Regions from separate parts of the Homo sapiens genome. Here regions 1, 2 and 3 are each linked to region 4. Evidence: promoter capture Hi-C in 16 types of primary human blood cells and fetal thymus (Javierre and others, 2016). All regions are on one chromosome and are shown on one strand. Each heading gives the region's core, a stretch centred on a gene start or on the middle of the fragment in contact. The rest is flanking DNA. Distances are from core to core; before and after follow the strand shown.

The links. Contacts are between HindIII fragments. The CHiCAGO score rates a contact against its expected background, and 5 or more counts as called.
Region 1: a fragment that was not itself captured here is called in contact with the fragment with the promoter of ADRB1 in region 4 in 1 of 17 cell types (total CD8 T cells); the score reaches 5.7 in total CD8 T cells.
Region 2: a fragment that was not itself captured here is called in contact with the fragment with the promoter of ADRB1 in region 4 in 2 of 17 cell types (megakaryocytes and erythroblasts); the score reaches 5.7 in megakaryocytes.
Region 3: a contact is called between a fragment that was not itself captured here and the fragment with the promoter of ADRB1 in region 4, in 1 of 17 cell types (erythroblasts). The highest score is 5.3, in erythroblasts.

The regions. Positions count from the first base shown.
Region 1 is chr10:113,733,940-113,738,025 of GRCh38, forward strand. No RefSeq gene overlaps it. Among named protein-coding and RNA genes, the nearest start is that of PLEKHS1, 16 kb to the right of the region's middle. The HindIII fragment of the contact is 181 bases long and covers 2,492-2,672 here.
Region 2 is chr10:113,710,822-113,714,651 of GRCh38, forward strand. All of the region lies in intron 2 of CASP7 (caspase 7), which reads left to right. LOC124902505 (a long non-coding RNA gene) reads right to left here and starts at 1,028. Exons shown (of 2, transcript XR_007062294.1): 1 at 769-1,028; 2 at 1-188. The HindIII fragment of the contact is 1,241 bases long and covers 1,099-2,339 here.
Region 3 is chr10:113,767,848-113,771,629 of GRCh38, forward strand. PLEKHS1 (pleckstrin homology domain containing S1) reads left to right here. Exons shown (of 13, transcript NM_001395068.1): 6 at 968-1,043; 7 at 1,937-2,053. Among named protein-coding and RNA genes, the nearest start is that of MIR4483, 8.3 kb to the right of the region's middle. The HindIII fragment of the contact is 2,272 bases long and covers 524-2,795 here.
Region 4 is chr10:114,041,195-114,045,261 of GRCh38, forward strand. ADRB1 (adrenoceptor beta 1) reads left to right here and starts at 2,672. Exons shown (of 1, transcript NM_000684.3): 1 at 2,672-4,067. The coding sequence starts at 2,939. RefSeq lists an enhancer at 2,040-2,089 and silencers at 2,360-2,639, 2,710-2,769. The HindIII fragment of the contact is 8,909 bases long and covers 1-4,067 here.

The DNA of each region.
Region 1 (4,086 bases), core at 1,332-3,831, 310 kb before region 4:
CGCAACAAACATCAGAAAACACAAAAGCCAAATACGATGAGTTTGCTTCGGCATAACTTTTGGTTTTTATGGCACTATGAATATTTATGGCACTGCAGTTTTCTAACAAATATTTGTTGTAATCATTTAAAGCCAAACTGTCAAAGAATTTAAATTTGGAAGGCACATGGGGTTATGGCTGCAAATAAACGAGGCTGAGCATTTCGCGAGCTTTAAGTGTCTGACCCAAGTAAATAGTATAAGATTCGAGAAAGAGTTGGGAAAGAGGAAGGTGTACATGGTGAGATAGGTTTGGTCTCCGTTGCTAGTTCTAGCTTCCGTTATTTTAAGTAGATCTCAATTAGTATAGCATCAAACGTTTTAGCAGAGGTGCTTTTAACCATTCATGTTTAAAAATTAGGCTCTGAGTCTGATCCAAGTTCTAATCCTAACTCTGTCATTTAACCATTTAATACTCACATAACCCACATAACCTTAGGCAGTCCTTCAGTTTCCTCATCTACATATGAAGATGGTAATGTGAAAATTAATGAGATAATGTACATGAAATGCTTAGTACAATGCCTGGCACAAAGTTGTAACCGAAAGAGGATCTGGCTGCTCACCACTTACAGAAAGAAGCCAAAATAACAAGAACAAGGTGTGATCAAAGGAGAGTGAATTTTATTATCCAATGCCAACAAGGGGAAAAGGTCAGAATCCTTTCTGAAAATTGCCACCTTTTCAGTTTCTGGAGAGTGGGCAATGGTTTAAGAATAGAGGCTTGGAATACAGGGAGGGGGAGGGGCTCGGAGGTGCCAGGTGGCATGTTTCACTCCGATGGCTTATCTTAAATTATTGCTCCAACTGGCGAAGGGGCCAGCACCATCTTGGGCCCAACCAGCTTACAAATTAATTGCAGTCAATTGTGCAGTTAATGTCTCGCTGGGAGTGAACTCCGTCCTTGAAGTCATCTCCCGCTAGGGGGAGAGTTCCAGAGATGCCTCGTCCATGTCAGGATTCGGCCCCTGAAGCTTCTAAGGAAATACATGACCAGATAAGTGGGCATGGTGTGAGCTTAACAAGAATCTAGGTAAATAACTGTGCATAGGCATGGGAGCATAAGGTGGAAAAGGAAAGGAAAAAAGTTCTTAAAACAGTTTGAAACTAAGCTGCTCAGTTACAAAGTAATCGACAAGTAGTAGATATCAAAGATGATGGTGATGAATGATGATGATGACGATGACATGAGGCTCATGGAGGGGCAAGAACGGAAGATGCCCCCCTGGATGCCTCACTTGCTCTTTCTGCCTCCAGGTCTCTTCCTTAGTCATGCTTTTCAGTCTATGCTTTCAACCTGAGGTCTCCCAGAAGTGAAGGGATTAGATCAGCGACTGCTTTATTTAGCAAACATTCAGAGTCCTACTAGATGCCAGATGTCATATTAGGGATGGGGCTAGAAAGATGACCAAGAAAGGATGCTTATACCAAAGGAGGTGAACAAATCACTCTAGGGCTTAGTGGCTGTAACACAGTCATGTGTACATTACCCAGGAATACAGAGGGGGTGCATCCTGCCTGGGGATTCCAAGAGAGGTTCCAAAGGAACTGTTTTCATCATCTTCCATTCCAGCCTCCAAAAAAGGCTGAAGGGAAGGTGGTGGAGAGGAAATTAAGGTTAGCAGGTAGAAGATGGCCTGAGAATTCCTGGAAGATCGGTTTAGGAAGGAAATCACTATGTCCCACTGCATCCTCATTGCAAATCAATAGGTCTAGGGTGGAGACCAGGAATCTGCATGTTTAACCAACCTGCCTAGATATTCTGAGGCAGGTGGTCCTCAGACAACATGGATTATTCTGATACCAAAAGACTCCCTTGCAGATCTGCAGGAGTGGCAGCAAAGCCCAAATTAAACAGCTGGAAAAGATCACCCAGGGGCCAGCAGCGCATTGGCTGTTCAAAGACCTGGCTAGCCATCCTATCCCCAGATTGAATAGCAAAGGATTCAGGGCATAAATGAGTTCAGTACTGGAGCATTCTTGTCCAGAAACTTCCAGAGGCTGCACAGGAATGCCAAGCCCTTGTTGGCCAGGCAGGTTTGAGGAAGACTGTGAAGTGTGAGGGAGGGGTGGATCAGCAGACAGCTTTCACTGAATGGGTCCAGGTGCACTGACTTCTCCAGCTGGTGTCAGCAGGCACACGTCTTTCTCTTCCTCTCGATTGCATCACTTAGGCAATCATTTCTAGACAAGATGGGCCACTCATGTATTCCCTCTCCTCCAGTGCCTCATAGGTGCCACAATGCAAAATGCTCCCCTTAACAACATTTTGAGGTTGACATTTTTAAAGGAACTTTTCTCTACAGCACCTTTTGTAATTAACTAGATTAATGTTAAGTAGGGAAGGGAACACAGAATTCTCAAGTGAATGTGGTTTTTAAAAATATATTAGGATATAGGACCCATTCTCAACCGCTTAGGAAAATCAGCTTTTGCAAATTATCTTTTCTGAAGCTTCCAGCTGCCTTAAGTGCTGACAGTTTTTAAGCACTGAGATGAAAGAGACAAATTCTTTTTCTTTTGTGTTACTAATTACAATTTTGCTTGGCATAATGTAGCCTGCTTTCCTCTTGAGACATTTGCCAGCATACATTAATTGCACAAATATTTACAGAGGGCTAAAGCACAGGAGAAGCTTATACCAAAAAAGATACTGAACACTTGGAAAAAAGCCTCTTTGACACATATTTGTGGCCAGCTACCCAGAATCGTATAAACTATTTGCCCCTTAGCCTCAGCAAATGTGTTTAAAGAGCAAGTCCCTGGGTTGACTTAGTGTTGACTTTGCTGGCAATGACTGCTGAAATCTTTCTTCAAGAGCCTTGTGGTGACACTTTTTTTTTCAGGGTTAAAAATAAGGTTTCCAAGAATATGCATGCATCTTATGGGTTGCTATATTGTCAACACTTTTTATCTCTCTAGCCACCCACATGGAATGGAAAAGGTTTATCCAATGATTGTTCCAAACCCCAGGAGTTGCAGAAAGCCAAATTGAGCAAGTCTGGAAAACTTGAATGGCTAAGCCACAAGGTCCTCAATACCATCTTCTTGTTTTCCTAGCATGCTAATTAAGAAAAAAAAGGCCCTGGTGTCAGATAGCCCCAGGTTCAAATCCCAACTTCGGCACTTCCAAGCTATATGACCTTGAGGAGTCTCTTAATCTCTCCAAACCTTTCTTCTTTCATCCTCAAATAGAATTAGTCCTATGTGAGTACCTAGGAAATAATACCTACCTCCACAGGTCTTGTGCCCACCTCACAGGGATGTTAGGTGGAGCCAGGGAAATAACACACAGAAATGGCTTTGCAAAACTCCCCAAAAATCTAAAATCAAATAAGGAGACATTTCCTTTGTTGGATGTTGTTATGAAAACTAAGACATCAAGCAAAAGTCAAGTAAATGTTGGGTTGTGTTTTTTAAACCAGCTTGATCTTATCAATAATTGAGGCCACAGAAAGGAGATTAGGATGAAGAAAAGAAAAAAGGACATGCAAATGATGCTGACATACAGAAGAGGTTCTTTCTGAGGATAACGGCTACCCATGCAGTGGAGAGGAAGAACGTCTTCCAAAAGCGGATGTAGTCAAGCTGCTGGAGATCATAGGCAGGAAAGAGAAGGGCATAAGACGCTGGCCTGAGCTTTAGAAGAGGACACATTTCATATGTAGAGTTGCCATATGAAATAGAAGATGCCCAGTTAAATTGGAATTTCAGCTAGAACAACCATTTTTTAATATATATATCCCAAAATATTGCACAAAATATACTAAAAACTTATTTGTTATCTAAAATTTCAATTTAAATGGGTGTCCGGTGTGGGTGGGTTTTTTGTTGTTTTTTGTTTTGAGGCAGTCTAGCTCTGCTGCCCAGGCTGAAGCGCTGTGGCACAATCTCGGCTCACTGCAACCTCCACCTCCCGGGTTCAAACGATTCTCCTGCCTCAGCCTGCCCAACTAGCTGAGATTACAGGCGTGCACCACCATGCCTGGCTAGGGTTATTTTTTGTTGTATTTCTTTGTTTTCCTAAGTTTGGCAGCCCTAGCCTAA
Region 2 (3,830 bases), core at 469-2,968, 330 kb before region 4:
GTGACTTAAAAAATATCTGAAGTGGTTCCTCCACCGTTTGTGTCGTTCATCAGCTTCGGAAGAAAGACTCATACCCGTTGATCTGGACTTGAAAGAATCTCAGTGGCCTTTTCCTCCTGCCCCTCCGTTTGGCGGGGTACAGCAGTTCTCACATGCTTCAGCATCTTCTGCAGTGAGGTCCTAGGAACCTGGAGAAACAACAACAGCCACTTTTAGAAAATCATGTCTTTGGGGATGATTGCCAGCTGAAGAAGTTTCTAATCTGGACCTTTGAAAGCATTTTATTTTCCTTCTTTTTCCCTCCCCAGCTCCCACCCCTGGGAGAACCTGCTGGACTGAGCTATGGACTGTTGCCTTCTTTGTGCCATTGGCTAATTAATTAGCACAATCTCCTGGGAGCCCTTGAGGCCCTTTCTTCTGTCCAATAGCAGTTGTTTAGCTGATGATCTGCTCGACTCCAGCAGCTGATTTCCAAGCAGACAGTAACTCTTTTATTCGCTGCTGGGACTGAGATCACAAAGCATGTCTCCTCTGACTGTGCTGAGAGTGAATTACTGCTCACACCTAGGCTGCCCTGGGGACTCTACACAGTTTGTTACAAAGGAAGGAGACTCTAAGGATGACACTGCCTGCTGGGGCATTTCCTGGAAGGATTTTGGTGGTGGCATTAAAGGAATTTCAGTTTAATGTTCAGCTCAGCTGTCATTGCTGGGAGACCTTGCAGGTTCCAAGGAGAGTTGTAAATTGCCCCCGTGGCCCTAAACATACCCTCACTGCTGCAGAGGGGCACCTTCCAGAGGCCGTGCTTCCTGAGGTATGTCAGGTTCCATCTCCTGGCCAAGAGCCAAGGAGCCAAAAGGCTGTGCACAGCTGGAGAGGTGTTTGATACCGTAGAGCGAGCTGGTGTTCTCCGCCCCACACAGGAGTGTGAATCGGCACCACGCAGGAATGTGGGGCCAACATCTTCCATCAACTTCTCCACTTCCACGGGCTCTGGAAGTAGGCGAGGGGCTTGAAACAAGATCAGAGACAGCAATGAAAGGTCAGAGCCAAGAGGGCCTATGCAGTGGGCGGACAGGCTTGTCATCGTGACCCTCAAGCTTCAGAGGGTCCGAGATGCTCAGACCCTCTGCTGCTGCCATTGATCAGCATGTTGCTTTTGTTCTGTGCTTAACACTACTTATTGGAGATCATCCCAGGAGAACGCCCACACCTGACCTGAGACTCATTCTGTAGGTCTAGAGCAAAGCATAGGATTCCGAATTTTAACAAAGTTGAGAAACTCTGGAATAGGAGACTTGGGGTTACACCTTGGAATGAATCCAGGCTCTATTCCTCTCTAGCTTTGTAATTTTGGACAAGCTGATTTCATCCCTCTCTGTGAAATGGAACTAATACCTCACAGAACTCTTGAAGATTAAATGAGATAATATATGTAAAGTGGTAAATGATCAAAAAATGATGTTTATTATAACTGTATTTATTATTGTTGTTATTGCTGACACAGTGGAGTAAGAAGTTTAAAAGGCTAGGCAGAGGGATAAAGTCACAGTGAAAAATAGAAAAACGGGGTGTCTAGGGAGCCCCCTCAATTAGCACAAAAAAGTATGAATCCAGTGATCTTCAAAATAAGCCAGATCTTGAAATCCGTTTGTAGCAAGCAAGAGACTTTTAACTGTTAAATGGCAATTATTAGTTTAGTGTTTTAAATAACTTATTTGCATATAATAAAAAGTTACACAGAGTTCTTCCACTCTTGCCTACTGTCTGCTCCCAGCTCCCTGTAACACAGATAACCACGCTGAAAGATAGACATAATAATGAACCGGCGTCAGTGTCGGGAGTAAATACCCAAGATTCATTGTCTCACGGCCACGGAAAACTAAGACACAGACACACAAATACTGAGGTTCAGAGTGGAAGTTTAATAAGCAAAAGAAAGAGAAGAGCTCTCTCTACTGCAGAGAGAGGGGTCCAAGAGAAATGGATTGCTGGTTCCGCAGTGGAATGCAAGGCGTTTCATAGATGAGCTTGAGGAGGCAGTGGCTGATTTACATAGGATGCAAAAGATTGGTTGAACCAGGTGTGTCATTTGCATAGGGCACCAAAAACTGTTTAGGGCTAGGTGTGTCATTTGCGTAGGGCATGAAAAAGCTGGCCACCCCACACTCATCTTTTATTATGCAGCTGGTTCTCCACCTGGCCAGCGCCATGTTACCTGTTTCCTTACTGTACATGTGGTGGCAAAGAAAAGGGAAGAGTGGAGCCTCCATGTTAAACATACCTGGCCCTTACGTAGCCCTTTTCTACTGGCATAGCTGCCGGTGTTCACCCGTGCAAGCTTCCAGCTTGCTTATCTATGTCTGCAGCTTGATTTTTCAGACTGCTCTTTGTTAAAAAAAAAGAAATTATTTGGGGCCTGCTTTTTGTTAAAAGGGAAATTCTGTGGAGGACTCTTATACCCTTACTATCTGCCTAAATAATTTCTATCTCCTGTATCAATAACAGTAATAATCATGATGTTTATTTACCACTTACAACAGGACACACACTGTTCTAAATGCTTTGTGAAGATTAACTTGTTTACAGGCTCTGAGCAAATGCTGTTATTTTGTCCTTTTAACAAATGAGGAAGCACAAGCACAGAGAGGTTAAGTAATTTGCCCACAGTCACACAGCTATGCAGTAGAATAGGGAGTCAAATCCACACAGCCCAGCCCCTGAATCCATGGATTTATCTACTGCACCATCCTTCAAGTGTCTCTTTATGCAGATACGAGCAAATCTAAACATATTTTCTTTTCTTCTTTTTTTTTTCCAAAAGGTAGCACACTGCTGCCATTGTTCTGCAATTTGGTTTTGTTCTGCACTTAACACGACTTATTGGAGATTGTCCCACATCAGAACATAAAGAGGTTCCTCATTCTTGTTTACTGTACTGTGTGATTTTGATTAAAGAACCCTCCCTTTATGATCCAACCTGGTTATTATGGGAGCGAGTGACTAATTGAATAAGCTTATGTCTGCCAGATAGCTCTTGTAATTGAAGTGTGCTATGAAGGTTCAACACTGGAAATGGGAGAGTCAGGGGAAATGAGGGAAGAAAACTTATTACTCCAAAAATGTTTCCAGGTAGTATTAGGTCTCCCACCTGAAAGAAATACTCAAGCAAGAGTTGTCCTGCGTTCGGGCTGCCCTAAATTAACTCCCTCTCAGAAATCTGTTCTCTTCCTATATGTGAGCTTTGAGCCTAATGAGGCTGTACCTAATGAGTGTCTCTGCAGCAGCCTTGCAACAAGAATTGGCAAAATGGAAGTGCGGGTACCAGTGTGCCTGCCCCTCCCTCACCTGCCCCTGACATGTCCTGCTGGTCACCAGGCAGGACGGCAGCTCCATTTAGCTGATCACCTAAACAGAGGTGGCCCAGGGCCTCTGACTGTGGTGTTTCTTCAGCACGAAACGCTCTTCACTCATTCACAAAACACTGTTGAGCACCTGCTATGTGTCTGGCACTGTTGTAGAAGCTGGGGGAACTGCAGTGAAGTAGTCCAGGTCCTGCCCTCATAGAGTTTACACTCTAGCAGGAGACAACATAGCTCTGTAATTTGAGGTCAGGTGATGAATTTAAAAATTAAAGCAGGGGCCGGCGTGGTGGCTTACACCTGTAATCCCAGCACCTCGGGAGGCCGAGGTGGGCAGATTACCTGAGGTCAGGAGTTCGAGACCAACCTAGCCAACATGATGAAACCCCATCTCTACTAACAAAATACAAAAAAAATTGCCCGGTTATGGTGGCGTGCACGTGTAATCCCAGCTACTCCTGAGGCTGA
Region 3 (3,782 bases), core at 410-2,909, 270 kb before region 4:
TAACTCCAGTCTTCACATGGCGTTCTCCCTGTGTGCATAGCTCTGTGTCCAAATTTCCCCTTTTTATAAGAACATCAGTAATATTGGATTTGGAGCCCTCTCTATTCCAGTATGACCTCATCTTGACCAATTACATCTGCAACAACCCTCTTTCCAAATAAGGTCACATTCTGAAGTATTGGGATACGGAACTGAAACATACAAATTCATTGTATTTTTGCGGGGAGGGTACATTTCAACCGATAACAGTCACCATCACCCCAGAAGCATTCCATGTAAAAGAACCCAATACAAAAACATCTACACAAGCTACATATATTAGGGAGGAACTAGGCTTGCCCCCAAAGTAGTCTGCAGTTTTTAAGAGGGGCTTCTGGTCCTAGCAAAGGTGCCTAGTGGACTCTTCATGGATGATTATCTGCTTGAGGGAGAGGCAAAGCGGGTGTGGGAGAGACTGTGCAGAGGAGGCGGACAATGCCAAAGCCAACATATGAAAAACCCTGATCTGTTTCAGATTGACCAAAGCTTCCTTTTAAGTTGTCCTGTGAGTCCATAGAAAAGATGTGATTATACAAATTCACTCAAGCACATTCTTCATCAACACATGCACTCCCTAAGGGAAGGCCCACCTGCATAGTTACACAAAAATGACACTGACAGGTTAGGGGGCTTGCTTGAGAACACAAAGGAAATCAATGTCAAAGCCGAAAGCCCCAAACCCTGTGATTACTACTATTATTTTCTACTTTTCTTCCCTTTCTCTGAGCTTTCCTTGCAGAGGTGGCTGAGCATTAATTCTAGTGTGCAAATGTGGAGGTGGCGAGGCCATTTAAGCTACTTAGGAAAAATTCTTATTTCGCTGGTACCTGCTCTCACCACCATTCTAACATTCATAAAAGAATCCTTCTCTGGTTCAAAAGGCACTATTGTTGCCACATGCCAACTGAAAGTTTATTCCTGTCAACAGGGAGAAGATTAAAGACTGGGTCTCCTTCATGTCATCATTTCGCCAGGATATAAAAGCAACACAGCAGAACACAGAGGTGACTCCATATCACTAATAAAATAACAGGGCACCTGAACACAACCCTCTTTCAATAGAAAACAATGGTAGCTTTCCTTTGCCTCCTTAGTAACTGGCTTTAATACAAGGAATAAATAAATGAGAAAATGTACATCCTTATTACTTTTTATGATTAACAGAAAAAAATTCTTTTGTGTTTTGTGAGAGAGCTAAAGTACAGACACTTCAGATTTTTATTATTGTGTTAGAGGGAAGAAAAGTTAACTGTGACATTTTTAAGTAGTAGCTAGAATATAGTATTTTCCATCATTGTTATTCAAGGTGCATGACAAGCTCCCTTTTGAATGACTAAGTCTAGGGCAGTTTCTATAAAAATGTTTTACATGTATCTTGCATTTTTAATATAATGTATCTTTCATGTACATGCTTAGCAGTTTTAAGTTTTAAACTTATTTCAAAAGGGCCTCTGCTAATGTTCCTTTCTCAGGGCAGACCTTTATAGATGGAACTTTGGTCCCTAGGTATCTTTTTTTGACATGTTTTCTAGGTTGTTCCATGCTTACAGCAAAAGCCAAAGAGAAGGAGAAATCAAGGCATGTCTTCAAGTAGACTGAAGTGATTAGAGCAAAGGGAACTGGGGTGGAGGGTGTCAGAAAGAGACACAGTTGAGGAGACAAGTTGAGGGAAACGCTGGTCATCTCTGAGGGTCAGGCTAAATGTCCTCAAGGGTTTGGAAACAGGAGAGAGACAAGTTCGGCTCTTGTCTTGGTGAAATAATGCTGGCAGGCCAGCGGCATGAATGTTAGATTGCTATGGGAAAAGACAGGAGGCAAGGAGCCCGGTAGAGAGGCTGCCGTTTCATTCCAGACAGAGATCAACTGTGCCCTGACTGATTCCTTTTTTTGTGAGCAGGAGGAACTCTCATTGGGTAATAAAAGAACCCTCTTCTACTCCAGCCCTCTCCTTGGCCCTTCCAGCACATCAGAGGCTGTTGGCTCCAGCTCACCAAGAAATGGTCTCCAAGACAAGGTAATGGGGCTCACTTCTTTCTCAGGACACCACACCTGGGAGGCAGCTAATGCCTAAAAATCTTACCAATTAGCAATTGAATTTAACCATGCCCACCTTCCTCAAAGCCCGATGCACTATAAGAAAGATTCTTAGCCCTGATGTTTATCCCATACCACAGATGAGCCTCACTGAGGGCTTGCCCTGAATACCTCTCAGTGTATTCATTCATTTTAGATGCTCTTGATATGCTTTGGGTATGCTAGGGTAAGACCCCTTTGCTAAACCAAAACCTAGCTGGCAACTTGCTTCCTTTCTTTCACACAGAGGGCACAGATCCCTCTGCCAAAAGATTTCCCAGACACTACCTGATTTCTGCCCATTCTGTCTGTACTCCTCAGGCAAAGGCTGAGTTTCTTGTTAATCTCTTCCCTTTACCCTGATCAATCTCGCTTCTCATTCATTATAGCTGTCTATCACTTCTTCCTCATTTCTAATGAAATCCATTTGAAGACATAAAATATAATGTACCTGCCTCTTGAAAGCGACTTGTAATTGGACCTTCAGCTTTCTTGGATTTGCAATGTTCCCAACTTGGGATATTAGTCATAAACATGCTGAGTGGTTTTGTTCTCTGGCACGGATACTATTTTGTCTCTTAGAGACTTATCCATTGACTTTACCCTGTCCATGTATACCAAGCACATCTAATGAGTCCTAGTCCCTTGTTTTATCTAGTTGGTAGCTCTCCAACTATTTTGAAAGCTTTTTGTAGCATATCAAATTCACCATGCCAAACACCTCACCTCAGTTCTTCATTTAGCGAGTAGAAACGGTGGTATGCAGCAGTTAGGAAGCTTCACCCTTGTCTGTAAGTGCCTCTTGCTTTTCACTCATGATATCTCCCTCCCCCTAGAGATAACATTATTGGTCACTTTGCCTTTTCACACTATAGATCCAGTGATTTTTAAACCAGCTCGAGTTAACAGTACTGTTTGCCTTGCTGGGTGGTGTTGTTGTTGGTTAAATTAAGTGGGCTGCCTTTACCCCCAACTCAGCATGATCCGGCTCCATGAGCTTGGAACTTAAAACATGGACAGAACTTAAACACACCTGTATTTTAAAACTTGACTTTTTTTCTAGAGAACATTCAGGGTCTTTTCCAAACCCCCTGCTCTGAGGCATTGTTCTTGGAATTTTTCTGCCATGCAAAGAAGCTACTTTAGTAGAATATTCTGTATCTATGGGGAAGGGGAGGCAATAGTGGTTGAATCTAGATCACCTGGAAACCCATAATTCATACTATCATATGATCAACACAACCAAATTCCATTGCTGTGGAAACAATAGAAGTGTGTGAACAGAACACAAAAGAAAAATATGGAGCAGGAACAGGAAAGGTGCAACGCCTTGATTCTGGGTTAATTACATTCTTAGATGGCACTGGATGATTACAGGAAAAAGATGAGGGTAGCAACTCCAGAGCTTAGTGACTTAGAATGCTACCCACAGGGCTGGTCATGGTGGCTCATGCTTGTAATCTCAGCACTTTGGGAGGCTGAGGCGGGTGGATCACGAGGTCAGGAGTTTGAGACCAGCCTGGCCAATATGGTGAAACCCCATCTCTACTAAAAAATATACAAAAATTAGCTATGCATGGTGATGCGCGCCTGTATTCCCAGCTACTCAGGAGGCTGAGGCAGGAGAATCACTTGAACCCAGGAGGTGGAGGTTGCTGTGAGCCGAGATC
Region 4 (4,067 bases), core at 1,422-3,921:
GTTTATATATATAATGATGATACGGCAAAGTTACTGGCAATCTGGCTTCTGCCCTGAACCTCTACGACCAAGTTCTGGCCTTATCGCACACAGAAAAGCAATGCCTTCCACCCTTCGGGGGCATTTAAGGTTGACACACTCTATTCCGGTAACACCACTTGACAGAAAGATGGCAAGGAAAAGCCTCTTCCCCACATTCCCTATGCCTCACCCTGCAGCTCAGCACTCAGAACTCCTTTCCTGGGCAGCGTCAATTTCAACTTCTTCCAATCCCTTGGCTATTTTGAGACTGCCCCTTGTGGGTCCAGAAGGAAGCCAGGAGGCCGGGGACAGTGGCTCATGCCTCTAATCCCAGCACTTTGGGAGGCCAAGGTGGGTGGATCACCTGAGGTCAGGAGTTCGAGACCAGCCTGACCAACATGGTAAAACGCCATCTCCACTAAAAATACAAAATTAGCCGTGTGTGGCGGCACACGCCTGTAATCCCAGCTACTTGACAGGCTGAGGCAGGAGAATCACTTGAACCCGGGAGGCAGAGGTTGCAGTGGGCCAAGATCACGCCACTGAACTCCAGCCTGGGCAACAAAAGTGAAACTCTGTCTCAAAAAAATAAAAAGAAAGAAGCCAGGAGTCTCAGGCTTTCAGTGACTTGGATAACTTGGGGTGTAGTCTCCTTCCTCCCCTTTCTAACGCCTCTTGTTTCCTGGCCACTCCTCCTCAACCTCCCCAAGTTGGAAAATCAGCTGATAAATCATGGGCAGGGGGTGAATAAACAAATCACTCCCCAGTTTTAACATACTGATGCTGAGGTTTGGGCCTAAAGCAAATTCATATGTTTGCATTTATGTAAGAGAAAGTGGTTAAAACTGCTTGATTTTATATAAACTTGAAAAACATTACTTTTTGCTTTTGACCTGGACAGCTGTGGAAGTCGGTCTCTCCTTGCAAGGTAAGGATATGAGCTTGGTCATATTGATGACCATCAACGAACATGATGTTCGTTACGGGCGCTGTTCTTATTCCAATGCTAGAAGGACCTGTGAGCATTATATAACATTTTCATGCACCCTTACATAAACAATTAGAAGCTGTTTACTCCTCAAGGACTCAATTAGAGATTTTTTTAATTTTTTTATTTTTTTTTTTATTTCAGGCCTGAGCTGAGGACACTACAGGAGCCAAATTAGAGAAGGGGCTTGCAGTCCTGCCATATTGCATATTCATGGCTTTCTTGTCCCCTCACCCCCAGTATAATCCTTTTTGCCAGGTTAACAACTCACTAATTTCAAAGCAATTCATTTGCCAACTCAAAAAAAAAAAAAAAAAAAACCACAGATACAACTTTAAATGCTTTTGGATTTTAATCCTCTGGAGTATTTATATGTTTTCTTGTCTCATCCCTTCAAAACTAATCTCAGAGTTTTGAGAATCTGGGAACTTGGGCAAAGGAGAAAACAAGCACGCAGACCAAGGAATCTGAAATCGCAGTTCATTACGTCAGCATAAACTGACAGTACCTTTTTGTTTGTATTGACCCAGCTCAAATTATAAAATCACATGAGTAATAAAACACAAAATACAGGTGTTATCATTGAAAAGTCTAAAATGTAATTAAACGCGTTTTTTCCCCCTCGCGGTGGTATCGTTTACTCTGTATCTCAACGTTTCTGTCTCCCTAAGCCTCTCCTTTCATATCATGAGCATACATTTTTGCATCATGCTCACACGTTCATTAGCTAGGACTGAGGAGTGTGTACGATTCCAAAGGGCCCTCAGCGTTAGCTGTTAGATGCACAAACCTTCGCTTCCTTTCCACATCTACTGCACTCGAGGTTCAACAGAGGATCCTTGCAAGAACAGCGCCCAGAGAGCATTCTTGACAGATGCGCGCTTGGCTCCAGCAACCCGCTCTGCTGGGAAGTTTCTTCTAACCACTAACACCCACCTCCAATCCCCCAAGCTGTCACGACGCATGCTGGCTGGGTCCCGTCTTGACGGGGGAAGGGTTTTACACACACCCTGCTAGGCTGCCCCACATCACAACCAAGCTCGCAGGGCAAACTCCTCCAAGCCTGGCGGACAAGCTGTCCCAGGCGCTCTGGCGCTTCCTGAACACCAAGGTCCCCTCCCCGCTCAAGGGAGCTAGCGCTCTGTTCCGCAGAGAACCCCGGAACTGCAGGTCGAGGGGATGCGGGGGGAGCGGGGGCGCAGGAGGGAGCCGAGTGCTGGAGGCAAACGGGGCGCAGGAGCGGGTGCGGGAGGCAAACGGGGCGCAGGAGCGGGTGCGGGAGGCAAACGGGGCGCAGGAGTGGGTGCGGGAGCGAGTGGGGGCTGAGGGAGGGGACGGGGCCCCGGGGGGAGCCAGGCGCGGAAGGGGGCGCGGGGGAACAGGGACCAGGAACCAGCGGGCGCAGGAAGGGGTGCGTCCGCAGGAACCCGCGGGCGCACGGGAGGCACTAGCTACGCGATCAGCTCGGGACTCTCAGGAGCCGCTCAATTGCCAACGGGAGGGGGGTGCGGGGAGTTGGAGGTGGGGGTGCAGACCAGACGGGGGCGTGCCTTTGCCCGGATTGGCTGCAGGAGCCTGACGCGAGGCCCCGGGGGTTGGCTTGGGGAGTGGGAGCGGGGTGGGGTGGGTGCTGGGTGCCGGAGCTGCGGGCCCGGCGCGCTCAGAAACATGCTGAAGTCCCGGCGGCTCTTCCAGCAGCGGCAGCGGCTCCAGCAGCAGCGGCGGCGGCGGCGGCGGCGGCAGCGGCAGCGACAGCGCTCGGCTCCTGCGGGAAAGGCGCCCGGCGCCCATGCCTCCGGCCCCGCGCCGCGGCTGCCCTGACCCGGCCGCGACCTCCCTCTGCGCACCACGCCGCCCGGGCTTCTGGGGTGTTCCCCAACCACGGCCCAGCCCTGCCACACCCCCCGCCCCCGGCCTCCGCAGCTCGGCATGGGCGCGGGGGTGCTCGTCCTGGGCGCCTCCGAGCCCGGTAACCTGTCGTCGGCCGCACCGCTCCCCGACGGCGCGGCCACCGCGGCGCGGCTGCTGGTGCCCGCGTCGCCGCCCGCCTCGTTGCTGCCTCCCGCCAGCGAAAGCCCCGAGCCGCTGTCTCAGCAGTGGACAGCGGGCATGGGTCTGCTGATGGCGCTCATCGTGCTGCTCATCGTGGCGGGCAATGTGCTGGTGATCGTGGCCATCGCCAAGACGCCGCGGCTGCAGACGCTCACCAACCTCTTCATCATGTCCCTGGCCAGCGCCGACCTGGTCATGGGGCTGCTGGTGGTGCCGTTCGGGGCCACCATCGTGGTGTGGGGCCGCTGGGAGTACGGCTCCTTCTTCTGCGAGCTGTGGACCTCAGTGGACGTGCTGTGCGTGACGGCCAGCATCGAGACCCTGTGTGTCATTGCCCTGGACCGCTACCTCGCCATCACCTCGCCCTTCCGCTACCAGAGCCTGCTGACGCGCGCGCGGGCGCGGGGCCTCGTGTGCACCGTGTGGGCCATCTCGGCCCTGGTGTCCTTCCTGCCCATCCTCATGCACTGGTGGCGGGCGGAGAGCGACGAGGCGCGCCGCTGCTACAACGACCCCAAGTGCTGCGACTTCGTCACCAACCGGGCCTACGCCATCGCCTCGTCCGTAGTCTCCTTCTACGTGCCCCTGTGCATCATGGCCTTCGTGTACCTGCGGGTGTTCCGCGAGGCCCAGAAGCAGGTGAAGAAGATCGACAGCTGCGAGCGCCGTTTCCTCGGCGGCCCAGCGCGGCCGCCCTCGCCCTCGCCCTCGCCCGTCCCCGCGCCCGCGCCGCCGCCCGGACCCCCGCGCCCCGCCGCCGCCGCCGCCACCGCCCCGCTGGCCAACGGGCGTGCGGGTAAGCGGCGGCCCTCGCGCCTCGTGGCCCTGCGCGAGCAGAAGGCGCTCAAGACGCTGGGCATCATCATGGGCGTCTTCACGCTCTGCTGGCTGCCCTTCTTCCTGGCCAACGTGGTGAAGGCCTTCCACCGCGAGCTGGTGCCCGACCGCCTCTTCGTCTTCTTCAACTGGCTGGGCTACGCCAACTCGGCCTTCAACCCCATCATCT